2 separate regions of the Homo sapiens genome follow, and region 2 is linked to region 1. The links are contacts of gene promoters, found by promoter capture Hi-C in human tissues and cell types (Jung and others, 2019). All regions are on one chromosome and are shown on one strand. The core of a region is centred on a gene start or on the middle of the fragment in contact, and the rest is flanking DNA. Distances in the headings are between cores, read along the strand shown.

The links. The method cuts DNA at HindIII sites, captures the fragments that hold promoters and counts their contacts. A contact is called where the count stands out against the background at its distance.
Region 2: a fragment that was not itself captured here is called in contact with the fragment with the promoter of IL20RA in region 1 in 1 of the 25 tissues and cell types used here (hippocampus).

The regions. Positions count from the first base shown.
Region 1 is chr6:137,040,702-137,048,482 of GRCh38, reverse strand. IL20RA (interleukin 20 receptor subunit alpha) reads left to right here and starts at 3,518. Exons shown (of 7, transcript NM_014432.4): 1 at 3,518-3,842. The coding sequence starts at 3,755. RefSeq lists silencers at 3,706-3,765, 3,796-3,905, 3,976-4,025. The HindIII fragment of the contact is 8,751 bases long and covers 1-6,049 here.
Region 2 is chr6:137,523,397-137,531,177 of GRCh38, reverse strand. No RefSeq gene overlaps it. Among named protein-coding and RNA genes, the nearest start is that of OLIG3, 33 kb to the right of the region's middle. The HindIII fragment of the contact is 5,378 bases long and covers 1,298-6,675 here.

The DNA.
Region 1 (7,781 bases), core at 2,269-4,768:
GTAAATCATGGCAAGAGGAGTTGCAAAGTTGAGAAGTAGAAGAAAACCTCAATTCGAAAACATCATTTCAAAAGTCTCTGAAGAACACACTGAAGATTATATTGCCTGGGAGGCTTAGATGGGGAGGAACCAAGACTGCTGCTTCCCAAAGTTAGCAGAGGGGGGTAAGAGGTTAGATTTGAAGATACTAAGGAAACTCACTAAGGTGAGTTCTGGGTCACAGATGCAAACAAAAGAAAAACTGACTCCACTCTTTATTTCAATGCATGGGAAACATCAACTGAATACATGGCAAGTTCTCAGGTCACACTCATCCTGTAGAACCCTAGCCATTCTGAGGACAGAGTGGTGAGTTTGTGAACACGTAAAAGACAAGCCTTAGAGGTAAAATTTTGACTGCCTTCTGACAAGTGCCAAGGGGAACTTGAAGAGGAAAGGAGAGAGGGGACGAGAGGCATGCAGAAAACTGTTTGTTCTCAGACAATTGACAGCCCACTCATGGGGGAAGAAACTCCAAGTCGCAGTTACTCCATCCCCTACCCCGTTCCCACTTTCCAGCTGGAGGAAAAACTTGGTGAAATAATGAAATGTCACTGTTCAAGTTCAGAAGACTTAGGAGATAAGGGAAGGCTTTGTATAGGTCTGCTTTAGCCTCTTGAAGGGTCTGAACGATTCATATTTGAATAGAAATGCATACAAAATTTAGATATCCAAAAATGATTGGCCCCAAACACTTTTGTAGCAAATATTTACCCTATTTAACCCACAAGACTTAAGATGATAATGATGAAAGTAAACTAATACAATTTATAATCAAAAAGTAAGAACAACAGCAACTCAAGATAATATTGATAATGTACTGATCACACAGAGTCCTTCCTAAAACGTTCTGGGATTACAATGGAATCAATAAGAGTCCAGTTGGGAAAACAGAAACCACACTAGTTATTTCAACAGAAAGAATTTGCTGTAAGGAATTGGTTAAACAGATGTTGGAGTACTAAAAAAGTAAAGCAGGAATACTGAGATTGAAAGAGACAGAGTGACTACTAGAAGCAACTACCACCGTCAGGGTTAAAGGAACACAGGGCAGACGTGGGGTTCAGATCCCAGAAGCGAAGCCTCCAGGAAACTGGGACTCAGACCTCTGAGAATGGGGCATAGCCTACTCAGTGCTGGTATTTCTCAGGAGATGCAGTGAAGCTGATTCTGGGAGTACAGGAAGAAGCTGGGAACTAGAAACAATTGCTCCTAGAACTAGCTGTCCCTGCCAGGGTAAAGAGGCACTGTGGGGCCTTAGTGACAAGAACAGCAAACAAATAGGAAGCAAGTCCCTTCTTTCCTCATCCAGCTTTCAGGATTCCTTCAGGGCCCCTTTTGGTGGAAAGGAAAAGAACCAGCTAACAAACAAGAAAAGTGGTTTGAAGAGGCCTCACGTCAGCACCACGAAGCTAACATCCCAGCCTAAGGGGCCCTCTGACCCAGATTCCTCCTCTGTTTCCAAGTCTTTCAGGAAGGAAAAAGTAGCATACTTAGGCGACTCAGAAAATCCTGCCCCATCTTCTATCTCCTTACTCCCTCCTCACCAAAAAAGATCTTTTTTAATACTGAAGACCCCCTTTAAAAAGAAAAAGAAAAAGAAAAAGAAAACAATAGTTGCTCTAATTTGAGTGTCGTTTCCCTTTATTGGAGCATTTGAAAACAGACATTTAAGGGCAAAAGAGATGGAACACATCTGAGGTAAATCGTGTATCTATCTTCAGGCTGTGCCCAACCTTTAGAACCACCTAGAAAGGTACAAAGCTGAGAGCCTCTCTCAGATTTTTCATATAGTATTTCAAGACTCACCTCTTAATTGCACCCTTCCCCCCTCCCATTATAAAGAGCATGGAACCTAGGACCCACCGCCTTGTGTGGAAGTCCACACACCACTGGTCACAGGCCACTCACAGGTTTGGGGGACTTCATGATGATTCCTAGACTTTCTGAGTTTCCCTTGCCTCATCTGAAAAAAGGGCCAGGACCTAACTGCAGGTTGTGAGAGTTGAATGAAATCAAATAACAACTTTTCAGTCAGTGACAGACTGCATATACAAAGGTGGTCTCATACGATTATAATAGAGCTGAAAAAATTCCTATTGTCTCTAAAGACCTTCCAGGAGGACAGGATGTGAGGTGGCATCAGTGGCACTGACAATCCTGACCCTGTGCAGGCCTAGGCTAATGTGTGTGGTTGTGCCTTAGTTTATAACAAAAAAGTTTAAAAAGTAAAGAAAAAATAAAGAAAAAGAAAAATTTAAAAATAGAAAAAGCTTATAGAAAGAATACAAAGAAAAAATATTTTCATACTGCTGCACAATGTGTTTGTGTTTTAAGTCAAACGTTATTACAAGTCAAAAAGTTTAGGTCGGGTGTCGTGGTTCACGCCTGTAATCCCAGCACTTTGGGAGGCCAAGGAGGGTAGATCACCGGAGGTCAGGAGCTCGAGACCGGCCTGGCCAACATGGCGAAACCCAGTCTGTACTAAAAATACAAACAAATTAGCCGGGCGTGGGGGCACACACATGTAATCCCAGCTACTCTGGAGGGTGAGACAGGACAATCATCAAAACCGGAAGGCAGAGGTTGCAGTGAGCCGAGATCGCACCACTGCACTCCAGCCTGGGCTACAGAGCAATGCTCCATCTCAAAAATAAATAAATAAATAAAGTTTAAAAGATTTAAAAGTAGAAAGTAAAAAATCATAGTAAGCTAAGGTTAATTTATTATTATTGAAGAAATAATTTTTTAATAAATTTAGCATAGCCTAAGTGTAATACAGTGTTTATACAGCCTATAGTAGTACACAGTGATGTCCTAGGCCTTCACATTGACTCACCACTCACAGACTCAGCCAGAGCGACTTCCAGTCCTGCAAGCTCCATTCATGGAAAGTGCCCTATACAGGTGTACCATTTTTAAAATCTTTCATACTGTACTTTTGCTGTACCTTTTCTACGTTCAGACATGTTTAGATACACAAATATTTACCATTGTGTTACAATTGCTTGCAGTATTCAGTATGGTCACTTGCCGTACAGGTTTGTAGCCTAGGAGCAAACAACAGCCTGTACCATATAGCGTAGGCGTGTAAGAGGCTATACCATATAGGTGTGAGTACACTCTAAGATGTTCACACAAGAAACTCGCCTAAGACATTTCTCAGGAGGTAATCCTGTCATCTTAAATGATGCATGACTGTAAGATCTACGGCTGAGTGCCTAACTGTATATCGAGAAATAACGCTCTATTTCATCCGTCTTCCGATATTGAACTTTAACTGACCATCAGACCGGCCTGAATACCAGAATCTCTTTGCAATGCACTCGCCTCGCTCATTACCAGAAGGAGGTTTTACCTGCCTAGTGACCTGGTTGGTCTGGGCATGAACCCCGAGAGGTGGAAACTCTCAGACTCTCAGGACTGACAGCCGAGTGGCTGGGGACTATAAATCCGCGAGAACTGCCCTCGCGCTGCCATCCAGCTGGGTAGCCGGGGGAGCGCGCGTGGGGGCTCCGCGAGTCGCTCGCCCTTGGTTTCTGGGGAAGCCTGGGGGACGCGGCTGTGGCGGAGGCGCCCTGGGACTCAGGTCGCCTGGAGCGTGGCACGCAGAGCCCCAGGCGCGGAGCTGAGGCCGCGCGGCCGCGCTTGGCCCCAGCGGGCGTGGGACTGAGCAGTCTGCTGCCCCCCGACATGTGACCCAGCCCCGCCGCCCATGCGGGCTCCCGGCCGCCCGGCCCTGCGGCCGCTGCCGCTGCCGCCGCTGCTGCTGTTGCTCCTGGCGGCGCCTTGGGGACGGGCAGGTAGGTGGGTCGCGCCGCCAGGTGCGGGTCGGGGATGCCTCCAGGCCGGGGCCCCGCCAGGCAGAGCTCGAGGCCGAGCTCTCCCCTCCTGCCCGCCGGCCAGGTTTCGCTTTCGGGCGGGCAGAGGACGAGGTGCGCGGAGGCCGGAGCTTCCAGCCCCGGGGCTGCAGGGAGCCCGGGGGACACTCGCCGTCGCCTCGCGCACCTTGGCTCGGGGTCAAGTTTGCAGGACTCCGCGCTCCGCACTTTCGGTCTCGAGAATTGAGGTGGGGTGGGGGGAGTTCGGTGGGGGGTGCGCTCTGCGCGGTGCCCACAGCCTATGACTTGCGGTCGGGGACGGTTACCATGCGGGGCCCCTCGCCGGCCAGTCCCAGGTTCCCGCCACCACCGCCGCGGCCGCGCGGAGGGGCCCCTGTGGATGCCGCGTCTCGGCCGCCGGGCCCCGCAGTCCTGCAAGCCGCGCGTCGCGAGATCCGCGCTTTAAAAGCCAAACTCCCCGAAAGGGTCAGCCCCGAAGGAACATGATCCAGAAAGACGCAGCTTCTTAAAGTAAGCTCCCCCTGTCCTGGGTACGCCGTTGTTTCCTTTGCAGTTATGACCATGTACAGATAGTGCTCTTTGATTTTTCAGAAATAACAAAACTTTTAACTCGTTTACGACATAAGGTAACTGAAGAGCTCTTTCGTTTTGTTTGGTTTTTAAGTTTAAATTCTCTACCAATTGGAATCCAGTAAACCAGAATGATTCATTAACCTGATTGCTTTTTTTCCCTGTATTTCTCGTACATGAGAAAAAGATTTTTTAAAAAAACAAAAAAGATATCCGGGATCCCTTTTTAAAAAAATTATTTTAAAAAACAACAACAAAGCTTCTCCAAATACTGTGCTTTGTAGACACTTCGTTCAGGCCCCGCTGTCTTTTAACCCAGAACTGAACAGTAAGAGTGAATGCAGGAAGAAAGTTGACGGTGAATCTGGAGTCCTTGGTAGTTAAAGAAAAAGTTAAATTCAATATAGTTACAACAATAAGAAAAGTATGCACACAGATCTTGGAGAGATTTTGAACGATAGCTATTATACATAAAATATTTTATCTTTTAAATTTATCAGAAATTATAGTTATTTTTCCTTTTAATATTCCCGGGTAGACTGAATGGGAAGAAACGACTGACGTGCAAATATTGAGCCTTCAACTAACAGACAGAAATTTGTTTTTATTTTTAATCGAAGAGAGAAGCTGGGCGCTGTGGCTCACACCTGTAATCCTAACACTTTGAGAGACAGAGACATAGGCAGGAGGATGGCTTGAGGTCAGGAGTTTCAGACCAGCCTGGGCAACATACGGAGACCCCTGTCTATACTAAACATTAAAAAAATAAAAATAAAAAACTAGCCAGACGTGGTGGCAAAAACCTGTAGTCCTAGCTACTCCGTGTGCCCAGGAGTTCCAGACTGCAGTGAGTTATGATCACGCCACTGCACTCCAGTCTGGCCAAGGGTGAGACCCTGTCTTTGGGGAAAAAACCAAAAACAAAGAAAGTGAGAGAGAGAAATAAAATTGTTGGGTGCTGACATTACCAGGTAGTAATGTTCTTGACTTCAAAATAAAATTTACAAAACAAAACAGTAAGAAATCTTTTCTGACCCAAGAGACCTTGATACTACTTTCTTAGCTCTTCTTAGGGTATTCCCGTCCTCTCCTGGGTCTTTGGGCTAAGGTCTAAGGACTGCTGGGAAGACCACCTTAGAAGATGTATGTAGTTACCTGGATACTACCTGCTCGTAATTGAAGGATTATCTACAATGTCTTCTGTACAACGTGGGCTTACTAAGGTTCTATGACTTTGCCACTCTCAGGTAGATTAATGCTTTAATGCTCTCATTTTTTAAACTTCTAAAAATTTTCGTCTCACAGCTCAGTGCCATATCAGGCTGTAAAATACCAAAACATCCAAAGAGGAAAAAAAAAACTCAGCATGTCATGAACCTTGTAGGGAAATCTTGGTATTTCATTTCAGATAAAGTTGTAATGGAATTCAAAATGTCTATGCGGCTCCCTCAAGGCAGGTGCAACACGCTGTCATTCACTCTTGGACCCCTCCAGGGACAGAATTTCACAGTGAAGTTTATCCTTATGGCTTATCAAACTCCGCCCTATTGGCCATTCCCATATCCTGTTCTCAGGAACGATAAAGAACCATGATTAGCATAATATAAACAGGCATTTAAAGTCACTAAGATAGAATGGGAGATGGTGACTTCTCAGGTCATCTGCCTCCTCTGCTCAAAGCCCTTCAGAGGCTTCTACTGTTCCTGGAATCATTCTCAGTTCTACAAGATCCTGTGTGGCCAACTCCTGCCTGTCTCTCCAGCCTTATCTCACACCACCTAATTCCTGCTATCCTGGCCTTTTTCTACTTCCCAGACAAGCCAAAGTGTTTCCCATCTCACTCATACTGGCAGTTCCTCTGGAAGTTCCTACTGGAGATTCATACTGGCAGCCCCTCTGCTAGAATGCTGCTGTGCCACTCTATTCCCAGCTAACTCCTGCTCAGACTTTGGCCTCTCCTGCCAATGTGCTTCCCTCAAGAAGGTCTTCCCTAGGGAGTTCAACAATGAAAACACATGGACACAGGGAGGGGAACATCACACACCAGAGCCTGTCGGGGGGTGGGGGCTAGGGGAGGGATAGCGTTAGGAGAAATACCTAATGTAGATGACAGATTGATGAGTGCAACAAACCACCATGGCACATGTATACCTATGTAAGAAACCTGCATGTTCTGCACATGTATTCCAGAACTTACAGTATATATATATATATATTTAAAAAAAAATAACAGGGTCTTCCCTAAATCCCCAAAGAGGAAAAAAGTATAGCTTATGATGTCTATTAACAAATAAACTTGAGTTTTGGAGCTTTAGATTGCAGTCTAAATACCAAACAACAACTATGCTTATTAGAATGACTTAATGGAGTGAGAGTATTAGTCAAAATGTCTCTTCTTTGATACAAACATGGCAGCATTCCGTATTTTATTTCACTGAGAAGTTATTCCAGGACATACTTCACTCACACACACACATACACAGGGACATAAATGATTCTAGTGAACTAATTAAACTTGCAGAATTATTTTCTTTTTTTAACTTTTAATTTTGAACTAATTTGGGACTTGCAGAGAAGTTTCAGAAATAGCACAAAGAATTCCCATATCCCTCTCACCTGGTTTCTCCCAATTAAAACATCTTATGTAACCATTGTACAATGTTCAGACCAGGAAATTAACACTGGTATAGTGCTACTCACTAAACTATAGACCTTGCTGGAGTATCACCCATTTTTCCAATAATGCCCTTTTTCTGTTTCGGGATCCAGTCCAGGATCTCCCATTACATTTAGTGGTCATGTCCCCTTAGTCTTCTCCAACTGGTGACAGATCCTCAGCCTTTCTTTGCTTTCATGACCTTGATACTTTTGAAGAGTCCCAGTTACCTCTTCCTTAGAATATCCCTCAGTTTGGGTTCATGTAAAGTTTCCTCAAGCTTAGAATGAGGTTATTCAATTTTGGCAGAAATGCCACATAAATTGTCACTTCAAAGGATTTGTAATATCAACATGTCTTCTTATTGGTGATGTTAACCTTGATCGCTTGGTTAAGGTGGTCTCTTCAGAGTTTCTTACTATAAAGTTACGATTTTTCACTGTGTGACTAATAAATATTTTGCAGAGAGATACTTTGAGATTATGCAAAAATCCTGCTTATCCCCAAACTCACACCCAACTATTTTTAGTATCTATCGGTGGATTTTGACTGCAAAAACTACTATACCTAGTAGTGATTTTTTATTTCACTCTTTTTTTCCACATTTATTCATTGGAATTCTATTACAAGGAAGGGTCATCATTTTTGCCTTTTTAGGTATTTATTCAATTGGT
Region 2 (7,781 bases), core at 2,737-5,236, 480 kb before region 1:
CACATGCCCATCAATGATAGATTGGATAAACAAAATGTGGTACATATACATTGTGGAATACCATGCAGCCATAAAAAGTAATGAGATCATGTCCTTTGCAGGGACATGGATGGAGCTAGAAGCCATTATCCTCGGAAAACTAACACAGGAACAGAAAACCAAACACCACATGTTCTCACTTGTAAGTGGGAGCTGAATGATGAGAATGCATGGACACAGGGAGGGGGACAATACACACTGGGGTCTGTCAGGGGAATGGGGGGTGGGAGAGCATCAGAATAAATTGCTAATGCATGCTGGGTTTACTATCTAGGTGATGGATTGATAGCAAACCACCATGGCACAGGTTTACCTATGTAACAAACCTGCATATCCTGCACATGTATCCCAGAACATAAAATAAAATTAAATTTAATTGAAAAAAAAAAAAGTGAAGCAGAGGAGATGGATGGAGAAGATGGAGTAAAGTGCTGCTTCGTGAAGAGTTTTCAGGGAAGGCCTCTCTGCAAGGTGACTTTGGAAGAGACTGGGCCATGCAGCCACCTGGGAGGAAGAGCACTCCTGGTGGAGGAAACAGCAGGTGAAGAGGGAACATGCTAGACATGTTTCCAAGAACTGCCATGGGGAGCAGAATTAGCAAGAGGAGAGTGGGAGAGAATGAGCTGGGAGGTATCAGGCAATCAGCTCTACTAGTGATGGGAGGGATACTGGTTAAGGACCTTGCCTTTTACTCTGAGAAGCCACTGAGGGTTGCACAGAGGAATACCATGACCTGTTTCCAGCTGCTCTATTAAAGGAGCAGGAGTGGAAGCAAGAAGACAAATTTATGAAGCCACTGCAATAGTCTAGGTCAGAGGTCAGCAAACCTTTTCTTTAAAGAGCCAGCTAGTAAATATTTTTGGCTTTGCAAACCATGTGGTTGCTGTGACAAATACTCAACTCTTCCATTGTAGCAGGAAAGCAGCCACAGACAATAAGTAAACAAATGGGTGTCGCCAGACTTGTCTCTCCTATGGCCCTGGCTATATAGTTTGCAGACTCCCAATCCAAATGATGGGGGCTTAGAACAGAATGGTAGCTATACAGGTGTTAAGATGTAGTTGGATCCTGGGTATTTTTGAAATAACAACAAACAGGATCTAACAATAGGTCCCATTTAGGACATGAAAGAATGAAAAATGTCATGGATGATTCCAAGATTTTTGCCCTAAGACAACAAACAAACAAAGAATAGAGCTATCTTAGTACAGTTGTTCAGGCTGTATGCTGCACAGAGCAACACATTAAAGAGGACCCTGATTACATTATAGACACGCTCATTTGTATATTTATTATTATATTTTTCTATCAAATAGCACTAAAGTGTTTTTTCTAATAAAATATATATCACAATAATTTTCTAAAAGATGGAAATAAAGTACCTTGAGGTACACTACTACTACGGCAGCCAGAAAGTGTTAATACTCACTTTAGAAGTGAGGATACTAAAAAGCACATGTGCCACGGACTAATGTGGAACCAAACTTTTCACTTTAATACATTTTCTTTTCAAATTAAAATTAAAAAAACAAAATGAGTTGTATCATTCTATAACTTATGGAACTTAATTCTTGGGCGACCAGAGAAACCAAACTCTTTCTCTGTTCCTGTTTGCTGAGTTTTCTTTGTGTGTTTTTGTTTTTTGTTTCCTTTGTAGTGTCAAGTCAACAAGGTTGTATCTTTAGGATAATGTATATCTATCTGGAGTTTTATAAAATTATTTAGCACGTAGTACTACTAAAATCTGTTTCTATAGCCTCTTTTAAAGAAGAACACTTGTAAAAAATTTTTTTAAAGAAAGCATGTTATCTCATAAAAGGGAAAATGTGAGAGTGTAAACATATAAAGTATTATCAATAAACCAAAGACAAAAATGCTTGACTGATTCATTTTTCATCTAATATTTAAATTTAGCGAGAGTTGGTATGACTAGGTTATGTCACTATCTACAAAATAGAAGAAAATGTCTTTCTGCAAAACACACACACATCACACACATCCTCTTATTCTGCATGTCATGAAATGTTCTTGTTTTCTTGAGAGGGGGAAATTATTGCCTTAATGTGGTGTATGAAATCTGTATACATTATATGACACCCTCCCCCTAAAAAATCTAGAAAAAAGATGCCGTTTATGTGACTAATAGCTTTCAAATGGAAGTATGAAATCAGTGAGCTACTTATTTTTATACTTATTTGCAAGTTATATTAGCATTCATCGAAATATTTGGGTAGGTAAATCAGTTTTCTTCGAAAACGTTACTTGGAAACTTCCTGACTTCAGAATGTTTCATTTTCAAGATTAATGGTGGATTTCTAACCTATTAAATGGTGTAAATAAAAACTGCTTTCTGACATAACAATGATATCTTAATATTGTCATACTTGAAAAAAATTCCAGGGCAAGGCACAGTGAGTGGCTCACACCTGTAATGGAGGCCAAGGTGGGTGAATCACTTAAGTCCAGCCTGGCCAACATGGCAAAACCCTGTCTTTACTAAAAATACAAAAATTAGCTGGGCATGGTGGCACACACATGCCCGTAGTCTCAGCTACTTGGGAAGGTGGCTTAAACCTGGGAGGCAGAGGTTGCAGTGATCTGAGATTATGTGACTGCACTCCAGCCTGGGAGACAGCATGAAGCTCTGTCGAAAGAGAGCAAGAGAGAAAGAAAGAGAGAGAGACAGAGAGAGAAAGAAAAAAAGAAAGAAAGAAGGAAAGAGAGAGGAAAGAAAGAGAGAGAGAAAGAAAGAGAAAGAAAGAAAGAAAAAGAAAGAAAGAGAAAGAAAGAGAAAGAAAGAAAGAAAGAAAGAAAGAAAGAAAGAAAGAAAGAAAGAGAGAGAAAGAACGAAAGATTCCATTGGACTTTGTATTTCCACTAGTGGCTTCCTGCCAGGAAGAGCAGGGCATGACCTGGGAAAGCAGGTCATGGCTTTCCCTGGCTGGGAAAGCAGGAGTTGGGAAGTAGTTTCTGGTCAGCCTCTACACACTTCATTGTACCAATTTCTTTGGGATGAGATTCAGGTGGGAATTTGGTAAAAGTTCTATATTTTTCCTGATTAAAAACTAAATTAGATGAATATCCTAAAAGAGAGATTAAGAAAATTCCATTTATGTTAGTATAAAAAGAATTAAATACTTAGCAATAAATTTAACAAGGAGGTGAGACTTGTGCAACTACAGAATATTGCTGAAAGAAAACGAAGGTACCAATAAATGGAAAGACATTCCATGTTCATAGATTGGAAGAAATATTGTTGTCACTACTACCCAAAATGATCTAAAAATTCAATGCAATCCTTATCAAAATCCCAATTATGTTTTCTGTAAAAAATAGAAAAATCCAATCTAAAATTCATGTGGAATCTCAAGGGATCTCAAATAGTCAAAACTATCTAGAAAAAAAAAAACAGAGATTTCACACTTTCTGAGTTCAAAACTTACTACAAAGCTATGGTTATCAAAACAATGTGGTACTGGCATAAAGACAGACATATAGACCAATGTAATAGGATAGAAATCCCAGAAATAAACCCTTGTATATATGGCTGAATAATTTTTGACAAGGGTGCCAAGGTCATTCAATAGAAAAAGAATAGTCTTCAAAACTGGTATTGGGAAAACTGGATATCTACATGCCCCTGTCCCCCTGCCAAATAAAAAAAAAAATGAAGTTGGACCCTTACCTTATACCACATAGAAAAATTAACTCAAAATAAATCAAAGATCTAAATGTAAGTGCTAAACTATAAAACTCTTAAAAGAAAATATAGGGGGAAAGCTTTATGACAGTGAATTTGGTAATTATTTCTTGGATATGACATCAAAAGCAGAGACAATAAAAGAAAACTAGAAAAATTGGACTTCATCAAAATTAAAATATTTTGTGTATCAAAAGACAGTATCAACAGAATGAAAAGGAAACCCATGAAATGGGAGAAGTCATATGCAAATTACGTATCTAAGAAGGGGTTAATATTCAGAATATTTAAGGAACTCCTATAACTTAACAAAAGAAAAACAACTCAATTCAAAAATGGACAAAGGACTTGAATAGATATTTCTCCAAAGAAGATATATAGATGGCCAATAAATACATGAAAAGATACTCAACATCACCAATTATCTGGCAAACGCATTTTTTTCTTTTTTAAATTTTACCTTAGGTTCTGGGATACATGCACAGAACGTGCAGCTTTGTTACATTGTATACATGTGCCATGGTGGTTTGCTGCACCTATCAACCTGTCATCTAGGTTTTTAAGCCCTACAAGCATTAGGTATTTGTCCTAATGCTCTTGCTCCCCTTGCGCCCCACCCCCCAAGAGGCCCTGGTGTGTGATGTTCCCCTCCCTGTGTCCATGTGTTCTCATTGTTCAACTCCCACTTATGAGTGAGAACATGTGGTGTATTGTTTTCTGTTCCTGTGTTAGTTTGCTGAGAATGATGGCTTCCCGCTTTATCCATGTCCCTGCAAAGGACATGATTTTTGATGACTACATAGTATTCCATAGTGTATATGTGCCATATTTTCTTTATGGGAAACGCATATTAAAACCACAGTGAGATACCATTCACACCTATTAGGATGGTTAGCTTCAAAAAAGTGTTGGCAAGAATAAGGAGAAATTGGAACCCTTGTACATTGCTGGTCAGAATGTGAGACCACTGTGAAAAACAGTATTTTAGTACCACAAAAGATTAAACATAGAATTATGGTATGATCTAGCAATTCCCCTCTGGATATATACCCAGAAGAAAAGAAAGTATAAACTCAAAGAGATATTTGTGCATCCATGTTTATAGCAGCATAATTCACAAGAATCAAAAGATGGAAGCAACCCTATTGTCCATTAATAGATCAACGAATAAACAAAATCTGGTACATAAATACTATATTAGTCCATTATAATGCTGCTATAAAGAACTATCTGAGGCTGGGTAATTTATAAAGAGGCTTAATTGGCTCACAGTTCTGCAGTCTGCACAGCAAGCATGGCTGGGGAGGCCTCAGGAAATTTACAATCAAGGTGGAATATGAAGGGGAAGCAAGCATATCTTCAAATGACCAGTAGGAGAGAGAGAGTGAAGAAGGAGGTGCTACACACTTTTAAACAACCAGAACTCATTCAAGAGATCAGCAAGGGGGAACTCAGCCCCCATGATCCCAGGTCCTTCCACCACCAGGTCCCTCCCACCAGGTCCTTCCCACAACATTAAAGATTACAATTCAATCTGAGATTTGGTTGGAGACACAGAGCCAAGCCATATCACATATAGATAAATACTTTTGAGCCTTAAAAGGGAAGGAAATTCTGACATACACTACAACATGGATAAACCCTGAGGACATTGTGCTAAGTGAAATTAGCCAGTCAGAAAAGGATAAATATTGTATAATTCTACTTATTTAAGGTATCTAGAGTAGTCAAGTTTATAATGTTGGGGCTAGAGCATGATACCCCAAAGTATGGCACCTTGGCATGCTGAATGCTTTGAACAAAAGGAGGTTGAAAGGTCTCAGAAACAGTCTCTCTGACCCTCTCCCATCCTCCTGTTTCTCGCCTCTCTTTCTCCCATAAAGTGAGTCATAGAAACCAGAATTCCTCTTTCCCAAGGTGGGTCATAGAAACTAGAACCTCTTTTCCCCCAAGCAAGCCATAACCTAGAAAGGTCACTCTCTCTTAAAGACCTTCATTCCACAGGGGTCCTACCCAAGCCCAGGATGAAGGCAGACTACACAGAGAGACCAAGAAGAATCTGAACAGGCAGGCCTTGCTGGGTTTCCCCCTCAGCCTATCACCATTAGATCATACCCTTTGGTCCAGTGACATTTCTACATGGCTGTTCATTCTTCATTGATCCTAAGCATAAAAATAGGCAGTTTTTCCTGGATCTTTGGGTCTTCATTTCTGATGTTTCTCATGTCACATAAAACTTTGATTAAATAAATTTGTTGTACTTTTCTCTTGTTAACCTATCTTTTGTTACAGGAGTGTTGACGGTGACTCTTATGATGGGTGAGAAAAGGTACCACACTTTTCTGCCCCTTCAATAGATATAGAAGGTAGAATGGTGGTTGCCAGGAGCTGGGGGGAGGGGGGAACAAGAATTATTATTATTATTTTTTAGACAGAGTTTCACTCTTGTTGCCCAGGCTGGAGTGCAATGGCATGATCTCAGCTCACTGCAACTTCTGCCTCCCCAGTTCAAGCAATTCTCCTGCCTCAGCCTCCCAAGTAGCTGGGGTTACAGGTGTCCACCACCACACCCAGCTAATGTTTTGTATTTTTAGTAGAGATGGGGTTTCACGATGTTGGCCAGGCTGGTCTCGAACTCCTGACCTCAGGTAATCCACTGGCCTTGGCCTACCAGAGTGCTGGGATTACAGCATGAGCTGCCATGCCCAGCCAAGAAATTGTTTAATGGAGACAGAGTTTCAGATGAGGAAGATGAAAAAGTTCTGGAGATAAATAGTGGTGATAGTTCTACAATGATATGAATGTACTTAATACCATTGAGCTGTACATTTAAAAATGGTTAAAGTGGTAAGTTTCATGCCATGTAAACATGCCACTTAAAAATGGCTAAAATGGCCAGGAACAGTGGCTCACCCCTGTAATCCCAGCACTTTGGGAGGCCGAGGCGGGTGGATCACCTGAGATCAGGAGTTCGAGACGAGCCTGATCAACATGGAGAAACCCCGTCTCTACTAAAAATACAAAATTAGCCAGGCGCGGTGGCACATGCCTGTAATCCCAGCTACCCAGGAGGCTGAGACAGGAGAATCGTTTAAACCCGGGAGGCAGAGGTTGCGGTAAGCCGAGATCACGCCATTGCACTCCAGCCTGGGCAAGAGAGCAAAACTCTGTCTCAAAAAAAAAAAGGGCTAAAATGTGGCTGGGCAGAAGGCTCACACCTGTAATCCCAGCACTTTGAGACAGAAGTATCCCCTGAGCCCAGGAGTTCAACCAGTCCAGGCAACATGGTGAGACCTTGTCTCCACAAAATTTAAAAAAATTAGCTGGGCATGGTGGTGTGCACTTGTCCCCAGGAGTTAGAGGCTGTTGTAAGCCGTGATCGCACCACTGCACTCCAGCTTGGATGACAGAGTGAGATCTTGTCTCTAAGAAAAAAATTAAAAATAAAAATAAGAAAATGGCAAAAGTTTCATGCCAATGTATATTTTACTACAATAAAAAGAAAATGAAAAAAGCTGTATTAAAAGATCGAGTGTTTCTCTTTCTTAGCTGAAAACTGTAGGAGAAAAGAATGGTGGAACTTAGAAGTCACAAGAAATGTTCAGGAAAAAAATATGACTAAAAGCCTATGGTTTTGAAGCCAGCCAAAATGCAGGCTCCTTTCCAAGATTGGAGTTAGAGATAATTTCTTCCATAACTCTTGCTTCCTGGCATAGACTGCATAGTTGGGCCAAGTGCAGGAGATGGGGGCGGGGGGATGCAACTTCTTTCTTCTGCCAATGCTAATGGCTCTCCCACAGCTGTAGAAAAGTGATTAAGAATATAATACCATTTCCAATCAGCTTTCCTAAGTAACCTGCACTTAAAGAACAGTAAAAATTAAACGGAGCCAGTAAAACACTGGCTGAAAACAAAAGAGGGGAGCTGGTGTTTGGCTGGTAAGAAAGTGTTGCAGCCAAAAGCAATTTGACCAAACTAACCTGAGCCAGTCTTTTCTTTGTGATTCATTTTTGTTGTTATCTTCTGAATTCCACAGAACTGT